2 separate regions of the Homo sapiens genome follow, and region 1 is linked to region 2. The links are contacts of gene promoters, found by promoter capture Hi-C in blood cells and fetal thymus (Javierre and others, 2016). All regions are on one chromosome and are shown on one strand. Each heading gives the region's core, a stretch centred on a gene start or on the middle of the fragment in contact. The rest is flanking DNA. Distances are from core to core; before and after follow the strand shown. Region 1 holds the start of SCAPER (S-phase cyclin A associated protein in the ER). Region 2 holds the start of TSPAN3 (tetraspanin 3).

Region 1 (7,517 bases), core at 1,060-3,559, 170 kb after region 2:
GGATCCCAGGAGTAGGAATCAGGGCTGGGGATATATATTCGGAAATCCAGAGCATAAAGATGCTAACCAAAGTTATGTAAAAGGCAGTGGTCATGTAGAGAGTGTGTCCAGTGGGAAAAGAGTGAAGGCTTATACCTATTCCTGTGGGATAACAATATTTAAAGGCTGGGAGAAATAAGAGAGACTTTAAAAGAGATGGAGAGGGAGTGGTTAGAGATGGAGAAGTGCTACCAAGAGAGTAAAAATGAAAGGCAAGGAAAAGTATTTCCAGAAGGAAGGAGGGTCATGAAGAGAAATTAAGTTAGGTAATGATGATAATGTCCATAAGATATATAGTAGGGAAATCCCTAGTGACTTTTTTTTTTTTTTTGAGACAGAGTCTCGCTCTGTCGCCAGGCTTGAGTGCAGTGGCATGATCTGTGCTCACTGCAACCTCCGTCTCCCTGGTTCAGCGATTCTCCTGCCTCAGACTCCTGAGTAGCTGGGATTACAGGCACATGCCACCACGCCCAGCTAATTTTTGTTATTTTTAGTAGAGATGGGGTTTCACCATGTTGGTCAGGATGGTCTCGATCTCGATCTCCTGACCTCGTGATCTGCCTGCCTCGGCCTCCCAAAGTGCTGGGATTACAGGCGGGAGCCACCAGCCCAGCCCAACTTTTTTTTTTTTTTTTTTTTTAATTGAGATGGAGTCTCGCACTGTCACCCAGGCTGGAGTGCAGTGGCATGATCTCAGCTCACTGCAAACCTCTGCTATCCAGGTTCAAGGGATTCTCGTGCCTCAGCCTCCCGAGTAGCTGGGACTATAGGTGTGCGCCACCGCACCCGGCTATTTTTTTTTTTTTTTTTTTTGTATTTTTGGTAAAGACAGGGTTTCGCCATTTTGGCCAGGGTGGTCTTGAACTCCTGACCTCAGGTGATCCACCTGCCTCAGCCTCCCAAAGTGCTGGGATTACAGGCGCGAGCCACGGCGGCTGGCCCCTAGTGATGTTGGAAAGAATGGTTTCAGTGGGGTGGTGGGGCAGAAACCAGAGTGCAGTAAGTCCAGACTTGAGTAGTGGTTGAGGAATTGGAGGCACTCTTGTTTAGATAATTGGAGAAATGTATTATAGGAAAGAAAGCAGAGGTTGAAGTGGAGTCTGGTAGGTTCGGCGGGAGATTTCAAGATGGGAGAGACTTCAGGTTGTTTACATGCTTATGAGTATGAAAGGAAGTGGGGATAATTAAGAAATGAGGCCCTGACCGCCTTTTATAGAATTGTAGTATGCTCCCTACTCTATCCCCCTTATCCTACTCATTTTGTTAACTGTAGTGCTTATCATGTTATATAATTTACTTATTTATTGTGTTTACTATTTCTTGTGTTAAAAGCAAAATATTAGCCAAATTAAACAGAGTTTGAGCAAAGAATTATTCCCGAATCAGGCAGCCTCCTGAGCCAGAGTAGGTTCATACAGACTCCCGCAGAGCCACATGGTGGAAAAAGGTTTATAGACAGAGAAAGAAAAGTGAGGTAGGGAAACAGCCAGAATGGTTATAGCTAGACGTTTACCTTATTTGAACACGGTTTGAACAGTTGGCCGTCTTTGGCCAAAACTTGGTGATTGGCGCAAGAGTAGGTTGCAGTGTATTTACACCTCCATTTAGGTTATAGTTTACTATTTACGGAGAAACCTTCAGGCTGAACTTAAAATATGTAAGGACACAGCTTTTGGCTAAACTTGATGTAACACTTGCCTGGTTTCACCCTGCTCCAAGAAGCCGGAGGTTTTTTAGAGATTTCTGTTTATTTTGCTCACGTATTAACTCCAAGCATCTAGAATACCATCTGATATATAGTATGTGGTCAATAAACATTTGCTGAATAAATGAAAAAGCGAGTTTTCTAAGAAGGCAAGAGAGAAGGGGAGCCAGAACATAGCCATATGGTTCCTGCCCCCACAACGCTTGTGAGTCCAGGACTTCCCGCCTACTGCGGGTGGGGAGGGAGAGGGAAGGGTAAAGAGCTGTTTCCCAGCTGGATGAAAAGGGACGGTGAATATTCGTTTGATAATTACAGTCTGCATTGAATCTTTTTTCTATTTTGTTCAGACTGATTTAAACGTTAAAGTATTTAATTCATCATATGTTTGTCTTTGAAGTAGATGAAACGTATTTGTTAGGTCTCTGTACTTCGACCTTCCAAGCCTGGCACACAGAAGGGCCCTGATAAAGCTTCTCGGAGGCCTAGTTGTGTTCAGCGCAGCCCAGCGTGCTCCTGTCAAGTGCTTTCGCCAGCACAGATTTCTGTGAGGCGCGTCTCTAAGTCCTTAATCTGTGGATTGACTGTGGTGATAAGGCAGGAGGAGGGAAGAGATTGAGTACGAGAAAGACCTGTGTGGCCAAAAGCGGCGGTGTAAGCTTAACCTAGGAAAAGAAACAGCTTCGGAAACGCCGCGCCGGGACATCGAACCAAATCAACCCTCACACCTCCCGCCTGGGCGCCCCAACGGCGCGAACGGGCGTGCGCCTGCGCGCGGACAACACAGATCTTGCAGCCGGGAGCGGCGCGGCAGCGGCTGAGATCACGTGGTGCGCCGGGAAGCCACCCCGCCTCTCCGAGGCCTCCCTGCCCCGCCCCGTCACGCCCCTTTCCCGGCGGGACGCTTTGAGCCGCCCCGAACTAAGCAGGGCGGTCGGGGGTGAGTGTCCGCGAGGGGCGTGCGTAGCGCAGACCCGGGCGGGTCCGGGTTGGGGCGCGGGCCGTCTGAATGCCTTGCGGGGACCAGGGGACAAAATGGCGGCGGGGTACGCCCTTTCACCCCCTCCCCTCACCTGGGAGTGCGAGTTGAGCGGGGCAGGGATCGTTGCTGGGGGAGGGGAGCCGCGGTCGCCTGGGGAGGGCTCGGAGGTCGGCCTCGGAGGCCTCGGGACGGGGGCTGGGGTGAGCCGCGTCCGGGCCCTGCCCTGCGGGCTCATCTGGGGTGTGAGGGACGTGAGACCCCGCACACTACGCGGTCTGAGGGGTGAGTGGGGGGCTGCCGCGTCACCTCACTTGGGGGCAGCCCCGGCCGCGGGTGACGAGGCTTCTGGAATGTCTAAATGCGAGGGGCCCCTGGAGGAGCCTCCCTTCGTTTGACAGGTGATCGTCTTCGTCATCTGTCATTCCCAGCGGGGTTTACCATGCTTTCCCTGTACTCTGATCTTAGCTCTGCCCAGGAAACGGGGCAGGAATGGCCTCTCCGTCTTCCAGATGCGTGCGCTGAGGCCTGGAGGGGCGAAGAGCCTCTCGCACCTGGGAGTAGTGGGACCCAGCCTCCTGCCTCTGTTGCTGCTCTTTTCCAAAACAGCACTTCCTTGGCGCCTTTCCTCTACACCGTTTTCCAGGCGCGTTCGTGGGAACGGCACCAGGGAGGAACGGGATTGTTAGAAAGCAGGCACAAAACTGGTCCTGTAAGCAACACCTGCTGCTGTTAAGGGGGCCCCAGCTGAGATGAGGCCGCCTGTTTGTGAGCAGCTTCCTGTTGCTGGTGGACTGCATCTCTTATTCTAGTTGTGACAAGTTATTTTCCATGAAAATAGCTATTCATTAATAGTCATTTTACCGAACAGATACTAATTCCTTATATGAATTATAGTTTGTCTTAGTTTATGGATTAATTTCATCATTAACTTTTCATCTTCATAAATAATCTGGTAGAAGGATGGATGGGCTAGGAGTAATACTTATTTTATGAATGGAGAAACGGGGGCTCAAAAGGTTATTACTTGCCTTAGATCACCAGCTGGTGAGTGGTAAATCTGGGGTTAAGTTTTCTGACCTAAGGTTGGTAGTCTGACCACTGTCCCACTCTGGCCTATACTGGTGCTCTTTCCCTTCTGTTATTTCTGTTAACTATGACTTTTCCTCAAAGTTTGTTGGTTGCAGATGATTTATGCCACTTGAAGAATGATATCCACTAAAGAATTAATATTTTTAATCAATCAAAGAGTCAAGTTTTAATGTGATTTGGAAGGTTGTCTGTGGGAGAAGTAATCTGATGGCTTTGAAGGCAGACTGTTTTGAGTTTGAATCTCAGCCCCAACCCTTGTTTTTGGCAAATTAATTTTTCTGAGCCTTTCTTATCTGTAAAGTAGGAATAATATCCACCTCATAATTTTGTTGATAGTAATAAATTAGGTGTCTGTAAAGTATTGAGAACTGTTCCTAGCCCATGGTAAGCCCTCAACAAATGCTCTTTTCCTTCTTTCTCCACACTCCCTTGAGCTGCATTAAAAATATACTCTATGTGTCTTTGGTCCATTTGGGTCTGGTATAGCAAAATACCTCAGACTGAGTGGCTTATAAACAACAGAAATTCATTTCTTGCAGTTTTGGAGGCTGGGAAGTCCTAGATCAAGATGTCTGATGATTCAGTGTTTGGTGATAGCCTGCTTTCTGGTTAATAGATGGCACCCTCTAGCTGTCTCCTTACATGGTGCAAGGGTGAAGGGGTCTCTCTCTGGCCTCTTATAAGGGAATTTATCCCATTCATTAAGGTTCTGCTTTCATAATACAGTCATCTCCCAAAGGCCCCACCTCCTGATATGACCTTGGAAACTAGGATTTCCACAAGAATTTTGAAGAACACAAACATGCAGACCATAGCATTATGGTTAATCACTTGGTTGTTCAGGTCAAATAACCATGGAAGTGTAATCAGCAGTACTGTACAAATGTGTTTATAAATAAATTTTGGTGACTGGTCCAAAGGATATAGTATTCTAAACAGACTTTAAAAATGTTTGCCATTGGTGCTTCATAGGTATTTTAAGAACTCCTAAAAGATTGATATTAAGGTCATTAATGTCTTCATTTAGCTGCAGGAATGTTTTAAAGATAAGTAAGATGAAGGGACTTGAGATTCTGTCATTTCTTTCACTTTCTTTTTTTTTTTTTTGAAACCGAGTCTCACTCTGTCACCCAGGCTGGAGTGCAGTGGCGCAATCTTGGCTCACTGCAAACTCCACCTCCCAAGTTCAAGCGATTTTCCTGCCTCAGCTTCCTGAGTAGCTGGAACTACAGGCACTCACCACCATGCCTGGCTAATTTTTTTTTGTATTTTTAGTAGAGACCGGGTTTCACCATGTTGGCCATGCTGGTCTCAAACTCCTGACCTCAGATGATCCACCCACCTCGGCCTCCCAAAGTGCTGGGATTACAGGCGTGCGCCACTGCACCTGGCCTCTTTCACTTTCATACCTGACCACAGCCCAGACTAGTTTTAAAGGATAAACAACTTCTTTGGGAATCACATGTGAATGTTATTTAAACACTTAGAAAGTGGGGGTATTATTTAGGGGGAAGTTTAATAGAATTCTCTGTAAGGGTACAATCTGATATCCATTGTGGAATTGGCATTTCTGAAATTGTAGAAGAGAAAACTGTAAATGGCTGGCATAGCAAAAATTAAATCATTAATAAAATTCTGTTTGCAGTTTCTGCTGGATGGTAACCTTTTTTTAAAAAAAAATTCAACTTATATAGTAGAGGGTACATGTGTAGATTTGTTACATGGGTAAATTGATGCCGATGCTTGGGGTCCCAATTATCCCATCACACAGGCCATAAGCATAGTACACAACAGGTGGTCTTTCAGCCCATGCTCCCCTTGGCCTAGTGATCCCTAGTGCCTGTTGTTTGTGACTTTTACAATCACATATTCTGTGTTTAATTCCCACTTATAAGAGAGAACACACAGTATTTGGTTTTCTTTTCTCATGTTAAGTCACTTAGGACATTGGTCTCCAGCTCTATCCGTGTTGCTGCAGAGGGCATGATTTTGTTCTTTTTTATGGCTGCATAGTATTCCATGGTGCATTTGTAGCTAACCTTTTTCACAAACATGTTTGGCTTTCACTGATTGGCTATGGGTCTTGTGAAATATAAAGAGTGAAAAGATCTGGAGTCCAATGATGGAGCTAGTCTTAAAAATTATTAGAGGCTGGGTACGGTGGCTCATGCCTGTAATCCTAGCACTTTGGGAGGCTGAGGTGGGCAGATCACAAGGTCAGGAGATCGAGACCATCCTGGCTAACACGGTGAAACCCTGTGTCTACTAAAAATACAAAAAATTAGCTGGAGGTGGTGGCTCATGCTTGTAGTCCCAGCTACTCAGGAGGCTGAGGCAGGAGAATCGCTTGAATCCGGGAGGTGGAGGTTGCAGTGAGCTGAGATCGTGCCACTGCACTGCAGCCTGAACAACAGAGCGAGACTCCGTCTCAAAAAAAAAAAAAATTATTAGAAATTATTTATGGAAAGACTTTTTCTTCTATGACATGAAACACTAAAGATTTCATAAAGTTTTGCTAAAATGATAACTTCTTAAAGTAATACGTTCATTTTATGTTTTGAAACATACGCAAAAGAGAATAGTATGATGAACTGCTATGTATCAATCTATTTCAAAAATTAGCTATATATTATACATGAGCAATATTATTTCATAAAAGTTACCTCCTCACTAAATTGTTTTGAAGCAGGTTTCAGACATCATATTTAATTTGTCAAGATTTTAGTATGCATTAGGCCTGCTTTTAATACAGTATTGGAAAAGAGAGAGAGTTTCAGTATTTTCAATTGAGCATGCCACATTCATGAGATAAAATAAATAACTTGGTTGACATATTCATGGCAGTATATATAGAAGTAATCAGAATTGAAAATCTTATTAAACAATTTAGAATTATAAAATGTCTATATTGCTCTTCAAATTACTCTTTTTTTCTTTTGAGACGGCGTCTTGCTCTGTCCCCCAGGCTGGAGTGCAGTGGTGCGATCTCAGCTTACTGCAACCTCTGCCTCCTGGGTTCCAGCGATTCTCCTGCCTCAGCCTCCTGAGTAGCTGGGACTACAGGCGGGTGCCACCACACCTGGCTACAAACTACTCATTTTTACCATAATACACATATTTTTCAATTAGCAAAAATGTGAACAGTAGTTTTTGAGTATGCCTGTGACAACATTAAAGTATCAGACTCAGAAAGGCAAATACTCAGATTTTCTTAAATGTTGGAAAAGGCAAAAACATGGGTGACAGACTTTGTGAACCCTGGAGAGGAACTGTGATTGCAAACCTCAATTTTTCTACAATTTATTGACCAATATGTGGATAATTCATAGATGTACTATTCTGGCTTCAGTTAGATGGGCCCCTATATTTTGGAGTAGTGCTACCAGCAGGCTTCTCACTGCTTTGGGTCTGCCATTTACTCCTTGCTCTTTTACAACCTGTGTACCCAAACTTGGATAAAGAAAAGATATGCCTTTTCTGGCACTTGAGCCCATCTTTACATTTCCATCTCTAGGATTCTTAGGCATCTCCACAGATATTCCGGGATTGCAGGGCAGAATAAGACAAGTGAGACTTCAGTTCTGAACAAGGCAGGAACTTGTTCAGACACTTTGTGCTCAACCAGACCTAGTGTTCATTCCCTGTTTACCACCTTTATTCTTTGTTTTTTTGGGTGCTCCACTTTCTGCTTGGCCACTGTTTTTT
Region 2 (7,275 bases), core at 1,187-3,686:
AGGCACGATGGCTCACGCCTGTAATCCCAACACTTTGAGAGGCCAAGGCAGGTGGATCATGAGGTCAGGAGTTCAAGACCAGCCTGACCAACATGGTGAAACCCCGTCTCTACTAAAAATACAAAAATTAGCCAGGTGTGGTGGTGGACACCTGTAATTCCAGCTACTCAGGAGGCTGAAGCAGGAGAATCGCTTGAACCTGGGAGGCGGAGGTTGCAGTGAGCGGAGATTGCACCACTGCACTCCAGCCTGGGCGACAGAGCGAGACTACATCTCAACAACAAAAAAAAGTGAGTGGGAAGCAAAAGAGTCAAGGGCAGAAGTCCAGCCCCTTGCTACAAAGAGGGGCCCAGCTGCACCCCCACCACCTGGAGTCTGCATCCTCAGGTGATCTGTGCGCAAGGCAAAGTCTGAGAAGCACTGGATGAGATGACTCTTTTAGGAACTTTGGCTAAGAGAAGAAAGAAAAAGTAAAACATGGTGTTTAAGTGAGAGGCTTTTCTTTTTAGGATAGGAGAGGCATGACCATGCTTGTAAACTCAGAACTGTGGTTTGCAGCCCCAACAGCATATTCGAATCACCTGGTGTGTTTTTGAAAAACACCTGATTCCCTGAGGCTCGCCCCCAGAGAATCTGATGGAGTTTGTCTGTGTGGCCCAGATGATTGTAATGTGGGGGGGGGGGGGGTCTGAGACCCACTCAAGGAGAAGGCACAAGAAGGACTTGATGAGACCTTCACAGGGAAATGAGAAGGGACACGATGAGGATGAAGAAATGCAAAGGGGATGTTTTGGAAAAGGAGGAAAAGCACTCAGAGCAAAGCAGACAGAGAAATTTACAGAGGGCAGAGGCGTCAAGAAGATAGATGTTCAAAGGGAATCATGTTTGAGAGCCCATCATTTTTCTTTCTTTAACTAGGACCTCCATGGTATGGCAAGAATGGCACTTGAAACACTTAGATGGTGTTACTGGTCTGCTCAAAGGCTTCTGCCTGGCGTAGTAGGCTGTTGGTGATCCGGCCTCGCTCACCTCCAGCACACTAGGCTCTCTGTGTTCCCCTTCCTACAGCACAGTGATCATGTTCCGGTCTCTGGGCCTTTGTCCTTGCTGCTCTCATCTTTGGGCTGTTCCCCTCACCTCCCTTGGGTCCCCTCCAATGTTCTCTCCTCAGAGAGGACTCCTCTCATCACTCTATTCCTTTCCTCTGAATTGTTTCCTAACACTACCTCATGTCATATACCCACTTGCCCGTTTGTTTATGGTCTGCCTCCTCTGCCCGAACGAATGTAAGCCATGGAAGGAAGGATACGTCTTGCTCACAGTGGAATATCCACCACCGACAACAGTGAGGCCCAGAGGGGACACGCGGCAAGTTTGATGAGTGAATAAATGGCTGTTGCTGCTGCTTGGTGTAAATGCACAGGATGCTGAGATTAACAGGTACTTCTGAGAGTGCCTGGGAAAGGTGATGAGTGGGGGAGATTGCATGAGAGCGAGCTGATAAAGACCAGTAAATGGAAATCCTTACGGGCGCGGTCAAGGAGGGAGTGCAGGATTATAATGGCAGGAAAGACAGCAAACAGAGGCAGTTTATTGTGTGACTGATGATGTGTTTTTTGCACTAGACCACTTACTATGTGTGGCTCTGGGCGAACTTCTTAACCTTTCTAAGCCTCAATTACCCGATCAGTAAAATGAGGCTGATAACCATAGTGCCTTCCATCCAGGGTTGTGGTGGGGGTTAAATGAACTAATGGAGCCTGGCACCGGGTGAGCACCCAATAATTAATTGCTATGACGGATTCAAGATTGGGGGAAGAATGTGAAATGTTGCAATGCAAAGAGATGTTTCTGTAATCGTTGCGAATCTTGGTCCAAAACTTACTACCCTGGAATAGAACTTGTTCCCAACCACTCACCCACACAAACATGTCTCTGCCTTGCTAACGCCATCACCAGCCTTTTCTCCTCTCTGACTCTTCTGAGGTCTAGCCCAGCGCCTGGTACAATAAGTTTCTCCATAAGTATTTGTTGTTTTTCTTTGCACTTCTCACCAACAGTGCTGCCAAGATTTTAACCTGGTCAGGAGAATCTGGTCAGGCAGAGATTAGTGTCTCCAACCTTCCTAGGGGAGAATGGGCTAGGTAGAAAGATAGCACTCAGAGGGCTCTGAATCATCTATAAGGGTGGCATAGTCATAGGAGGAGAGTGGGTTTGGTCCACCAGAACCTCCCTAGGGAGCCATCTGCGTCCAAGGGCGGCCAGAGGCCAAGAAAAGGCGCTGAGGCCTTGGCTCCTTTAAGAGGCGTGGCCTCACTGCAGCCTCCGCAGAGGCGATTGGCTGAAGCTACCGGCCGCGTGGGGCGGGACTCGGTTGCCAGGGAGCGGCGCGGGAGCCCTGAGGGGACTGCGGCGGCTGCGCGGAGGAGCGAGGCACTTGCTGGGGTCGGGGCTGCGCGACGGCGCAGGGGCTGCGGGGAGCGCCGCGCAGGCCGTGCAGTTCCTAGCGAGGAGGCGCCGCCGCCATTGCCGCTCTCTCGGTGAGCGCAGCCCCGCTCTCCGGGCCGGGCCTTCGCGGGCCACCGGCGCCATGGGCCAGTGCGGCATCACCTCCTCCAAGACCGTGCTGGTCTTTCTCAACCTCATCTTCTGGGTGAGCGGGGCCGGGCAGAGCGAGGGGCCGGCGGCGGGGCCGGGCGAGGCCGCGGCGGAGGCGCCCGTGGGGGCCGGGCTTGGGCCTGGGCGGGCGCGCGGGGGCCGCGCGCGGGCCCTCAGGCGGCTGAGGCGAGGGGAGGGCCGGGTGTGAGGCCGCTTCGCGAGGTCCCTGCCGGACCAAGCCGGGAGCCTGGGCGCGGAGGACAGCGAGGGGAGGCCTTCAGGGACTCCACGGCCTCCAGCCGGCGCCTCCGCGCTCGGCCCACGCGGGCTGGCTCCGTGCCAGGCGCCCCAGTCTCCCCCCCCCGGAGTCGCCGGCTGGACGGAGAGCGCTTATTGCAGACTGTAGCAGGACGTCGGGCTCGAAATAGGATCTTCGCCAGAGGCTCAGGTTCCGCGCTCTTTGTCGGGGCCTCGCAGACGAGTGGCCGTCCCGAGGCGGGCAGATCCGCGGGGACGCTGCGGAGCCGGGGCGGGGGTTCCACTTAACGCCCTTTGTGTGTGGAGAACCGGCTGACTGTCACCAGCCCAGAAAATGAAGGGTTTCAACTCGAGGAGCCAAATAATCCATTGACCAAGAACATCGGTCTATTTGTTTTGGTCATGGGGGTGACCAAACTGTGAGATTATAACTCTTGGTTAAATATATGATGGAGATGTCACAAGATTTTGAAAGTGATGAGTTCACTTTCAATAAAAGGTGGCTTATGAATTTTTAAGGGGTACACCCTCTTTGAAAGGAATGTTTATGTCATCTTAGTTTGGGTCCTTATCTCATCAGGGACTTTTATAGTAACCTAAGTTGTTCCTATCCGTCTCTCCACCCTCCAGCCCATCTGGACTTTGCACCCGGATAAATCTTTTAAAACGTTTCCTCTATCACATCACTTGATCTGAAAATAAGGAAAACAGAAGCTTCAGCGGTAGAATAAGGTTCAACTCCTTCCCCTGGTCTTGGAGCAGAAGTCCTCAGTCTGGTCCCAAATCACCTTGCCTCTCTGAACTTGTCATTTCCTTAAACACTTGAGTGCCCTGGACAGATTGCTCTGTCCACAGTCGCCAGAGCACTCCTTGAACATTCCGGTTAACCATACTGTGCCTCTTCCTCCTCCCCATTCAGCTCCTCCCTCCCACGCATACGCACACCTGTTCTGGAAAGAATCCTTTCCTCCTCCCCCGACCCCCCAACAAGGGATAAAACTTCATATCCTGACAGCTGTCTCATAAAAGGATGGTTATATGTTAAAAAGCACTTGCTACACACTTGTATTGCCAGAGTCCTTCGGGGCGTTTGTGTGTGAAGAGTCCTAACTGGGAGGTAGTAGCTGTTGGCAAACACCCAGGCGACATTGGCATTTCCGTGATTTCTTCTTTTCCAATTAGAGCAGTGTTTCTTATACTTTAATTTGAGTTACAGGCTTATTTATTTATTTTATTTTATTTTTTCAGTTTCTTGAGTTTATTGTGAAGAATGAAATGCACATATAGAACCAGTTCCATTAGCAAAAGTCGTATCAGTCTTCTCTTTGTAGATGTGGCATGATTTGTGAATCTGACCATTATAAGGGCATCTTTTGCTAATTTAATACGTATCTATATACCTACTGCTACTTATGCATCCATAACATTTTTTATTCCATAAAGAGAAATGTATTCTACAATGATTAAGTCATTAATTCTCATAGCATCTCGTTATAAACCAGGAGTCAGCAATCTCTGGCCCAAGAGCACAAAACGGTTAGCTACCTGTTTTTCTACAACCTGAGAGCCCAGAATAATATTTACATTTCTAAATGACTGGAAAACAAATGAAAAGAAGAATACTATTTCTTGGCATGTAGAAATTATATGACGTTCTCCTACCATTCGACCCAGCAATCCCACTACTGGGTACATACCCAAAGGAATATAAATCATTCTGTTATAAAGACACTTGCACGCATATATTCACTGCAGCACCGTTCACAATAGCAAAAACATGGAACCAACCCAAATGGCCATCAGTGGTAGACTGGACAAAGAAAATGCGGCACATATACACCATGGAACACCACGCAGCCACAAAAAAGAATGAGATCATGTCCTTTACAGGGACATGGATGGAGCAGGAAGCCATCATCCTCAACAAACTGATGCAGGAACAGAAAACCAAGCACCGTGTGTTCTCACTTATTTTTTATTTATCTTTTTTAAGAGTTACAGGCTTTTTTAAAAGGAAAAATAATTTTCAGGGGTCCCCAAATGAGAAACACGTTGTCAGCTAGTAAGCTACCTAAGAGGTAAAGATGTGGCTTTGTACTCTTTACAGTTCCTTGTGAATTTATGGCCATAACTATTTGATTTTGAAGAATATTAGGTGAATTCTAGGTTATTCAAGCTCAGGGACTGGAATTGTTCATGTAACAAAATATTGGAAATACAGTAACCATTTTCTTTAAATTAGATTTTTATTTACTCTAAAATATCAGTTCTAAGTGACTCCTCTGAATCTTTGGATATTGTGTAAATATATGTACTGTTATTCCAGTGAAGAAAGTTATTTTGAACTTCAGTGGTGCTTTTCATAGCGGGTTATTGCCAAGACTGAAGTGGTAATGTTTAGTAAAAATATGCTTTATCTTGGTTAGTAGGGTAGTAAAGTTTTTGTGAGCTGTGATAAGGAAGTTAAGCAGATACGCTGGGGGCAAATGTGTCACAGTGCAATGTAGCTAATGAGGAAACAGCATTAGGTATGTCTCCCAAGAAAGTATTAGTTTGTGGACTAACTGTGGGAATCTGATGATGATGGGTAATGGCAACTAACATTTGAGTTACTATACCCCAGGCACTGTGCTAAACACTTTACATGGCATATCCTCACAGCTTTCCCATCTAGCAGGGAATATTAGGTACATTTTAGAGGAGAACATTAAGGTTGACTGAGCCAAAGTAGCACACCCAAGGTGTGATACAGCCTGCGTTCAAACCCAGGTTGTCCCATACTCTAGAGACTGTGATGTTAGGACAAAGTGTGATTTCAGAAGATTTGTAAAGAGAAGAAAGTTGTTAGAATCACTTCTCTAAAGCATGCTGATTTTGAGATTGCTAAAATTAGAAACTGTACCAGAATTTACATGACACTTTGTTTGGTTTTGAATTAAGTCATTATGAGGAAGTACATTAAAAAATGTTAAAAGGTTCTTCCTGGGAATTTGTAATGCATTCTTCAGTTCTAATAAATGTATTCTTATATGCTGGCCCCTCCCTCCTTTTAATGCCTTGAGATGATGAATAAGTGGAAGAATAAACATACTCTCCATAGAGCTTATCAAATGTTTACCTAGGTTCCCTTGGGCAACTGTAGGCAATAAAAACTATGTTGCATTGGCTCTTCACTGTCAGATGGTAATGGCTGATTGTTAACAAGGGTCAAAGTTTAATTGCTTTGGCAAGACCTTTAAACTACACTTTCTTATGTCTTGATATCCTGATTCTGCTGGCATTTTGTTCATTGAACTGTGACATGGAGATAGATATATACCTGAAATACTCAGGCTGTAAATTATCTGACAGCTAAAATCGTTACTGTTGATTTGGTGTAGATAGTTTGGAACAATGCTGTAATAATGTTACTGTGGAAAGGCACAAACCAAAAGCAGAAACAATCATTTCTAAAATCCTGAAATTTGTCTTAATGGAAATAGGGAACTCCTGCTATGGTTAGAATGTTTGTCCTTTATAAAACTCATGTTGAAACTGAATCCCCAATGTGGCCGTATTGAGAGATGGGGCCTTTAAGAGGTGATTGGGTCATGAGGGCTCTACCCTCATGAATGGATTAATCCATTCATGGATTAATGGATTAATGGGTTTTCATGGGAATGGGACTGGTGGCTTTATAAGAAGAGGCAGAGAGACGTGAGCCAGCATACTCAGCCCCCTCACCACGTGTGATGTCCTGGGCCACCTCAGGACTTTGCAGAAGGCCCTGACCAGCTACGGCCCCTTGACCTTGAACTTCTCAGCCTCCATGTATGTAAAAAAATTTCTTAAATTACCCAGTTTCAGGTATTCTGTTCTAAGCAACAGAAAACAGACTAAGACAGTTTCTCACCAAATTCTAGAATATTAAGATTTGTAGCTTGAAAGATAATCTTGGACAAGTGAAAGGATGTACAGCTTGGATCATCTTGGATCTCTGTTTTTATGGAATGATGAGGCTTTAAATATAAGTGTATTCATGCTGGACCCATGAGGATTTATTGAAGAAGGTTAGAAGTGTTTTAGGTAAATGACTAAATTTTAAAGGCTTTTTTTTTTTTTTTTTTTTTTTTTTTTTGAGACGAAGTCTTACTCTGTCGCCCAGGCTGGAGTGCAGTGGTGCGATCTTGGCTGACTGCAGCCTCTGTCTCCCGGGTTCAAGCGATCTTCCTGCCTCAGCCTCCCGAGTAGCTGGGACTACAGGCGTGCGCCACCATGCCCAGCTAATTTTCGTATTTTTTTAACAGAGACAGGGTTTCACCATATTGGCCAGGCTGGTCTCGAACTCCTGACCTCTTGATCCATCTGCCTTGGTCTCCCAAAGTGCTAGGATTACAGGCGTGAGCCACCGCGCCCAGCAAAGGCTATTGTATTAAATAG

The links. Contacts are between HindIII fragments. The CHiCAGO score rates a contact against its expected background, and 5 or more counts as called.
Region 1: a contact is called between a fragment that was not itself captured here and the fragment with the promoter of TSPAN3 in region 2, in 5 of 17 cell types (total B cells, total CD8 T cells, non-activated CD4 T cells and 2 more). The highest score is 7.0, in total B cells.

The regions. Positions count from the first base shown.
Region 1 is chr15:76,900,463-76,907,979 of GRCh38, reverse strand. SCAPER (S-phase cyclin A associated protein in the ER) reads left to right here and starts at 2,640. Exons shown (of 32, transcript NM_020843.4): 1 at 2,640-2,681. RefSeq lists an enhancer at 2,294-2,794 and silencers at 2,535-2,844, 2,855-2,964, 2,985-3,064. The HindIII fragment of the contact is 186 bases long and covers 2,217-2,402 here.
Region 2 is chr15:77,066,270-77,073,544 of GRCh38, reverse strand. TSPAN3 (tetraspanin 3) reads left to right here and starts at 2,436. Exons shown (of 7, transcript NM_005724.6): 1 at 2,436-2,653. The coding sequence starts at 2,591. RefSeq lists an enhancer at 2,070-2,129 and silencers at 2,270-2,969, 5,591-5,680. The HindIII fragment of the contact is 12,417 bases long and covers 1-3,572 here.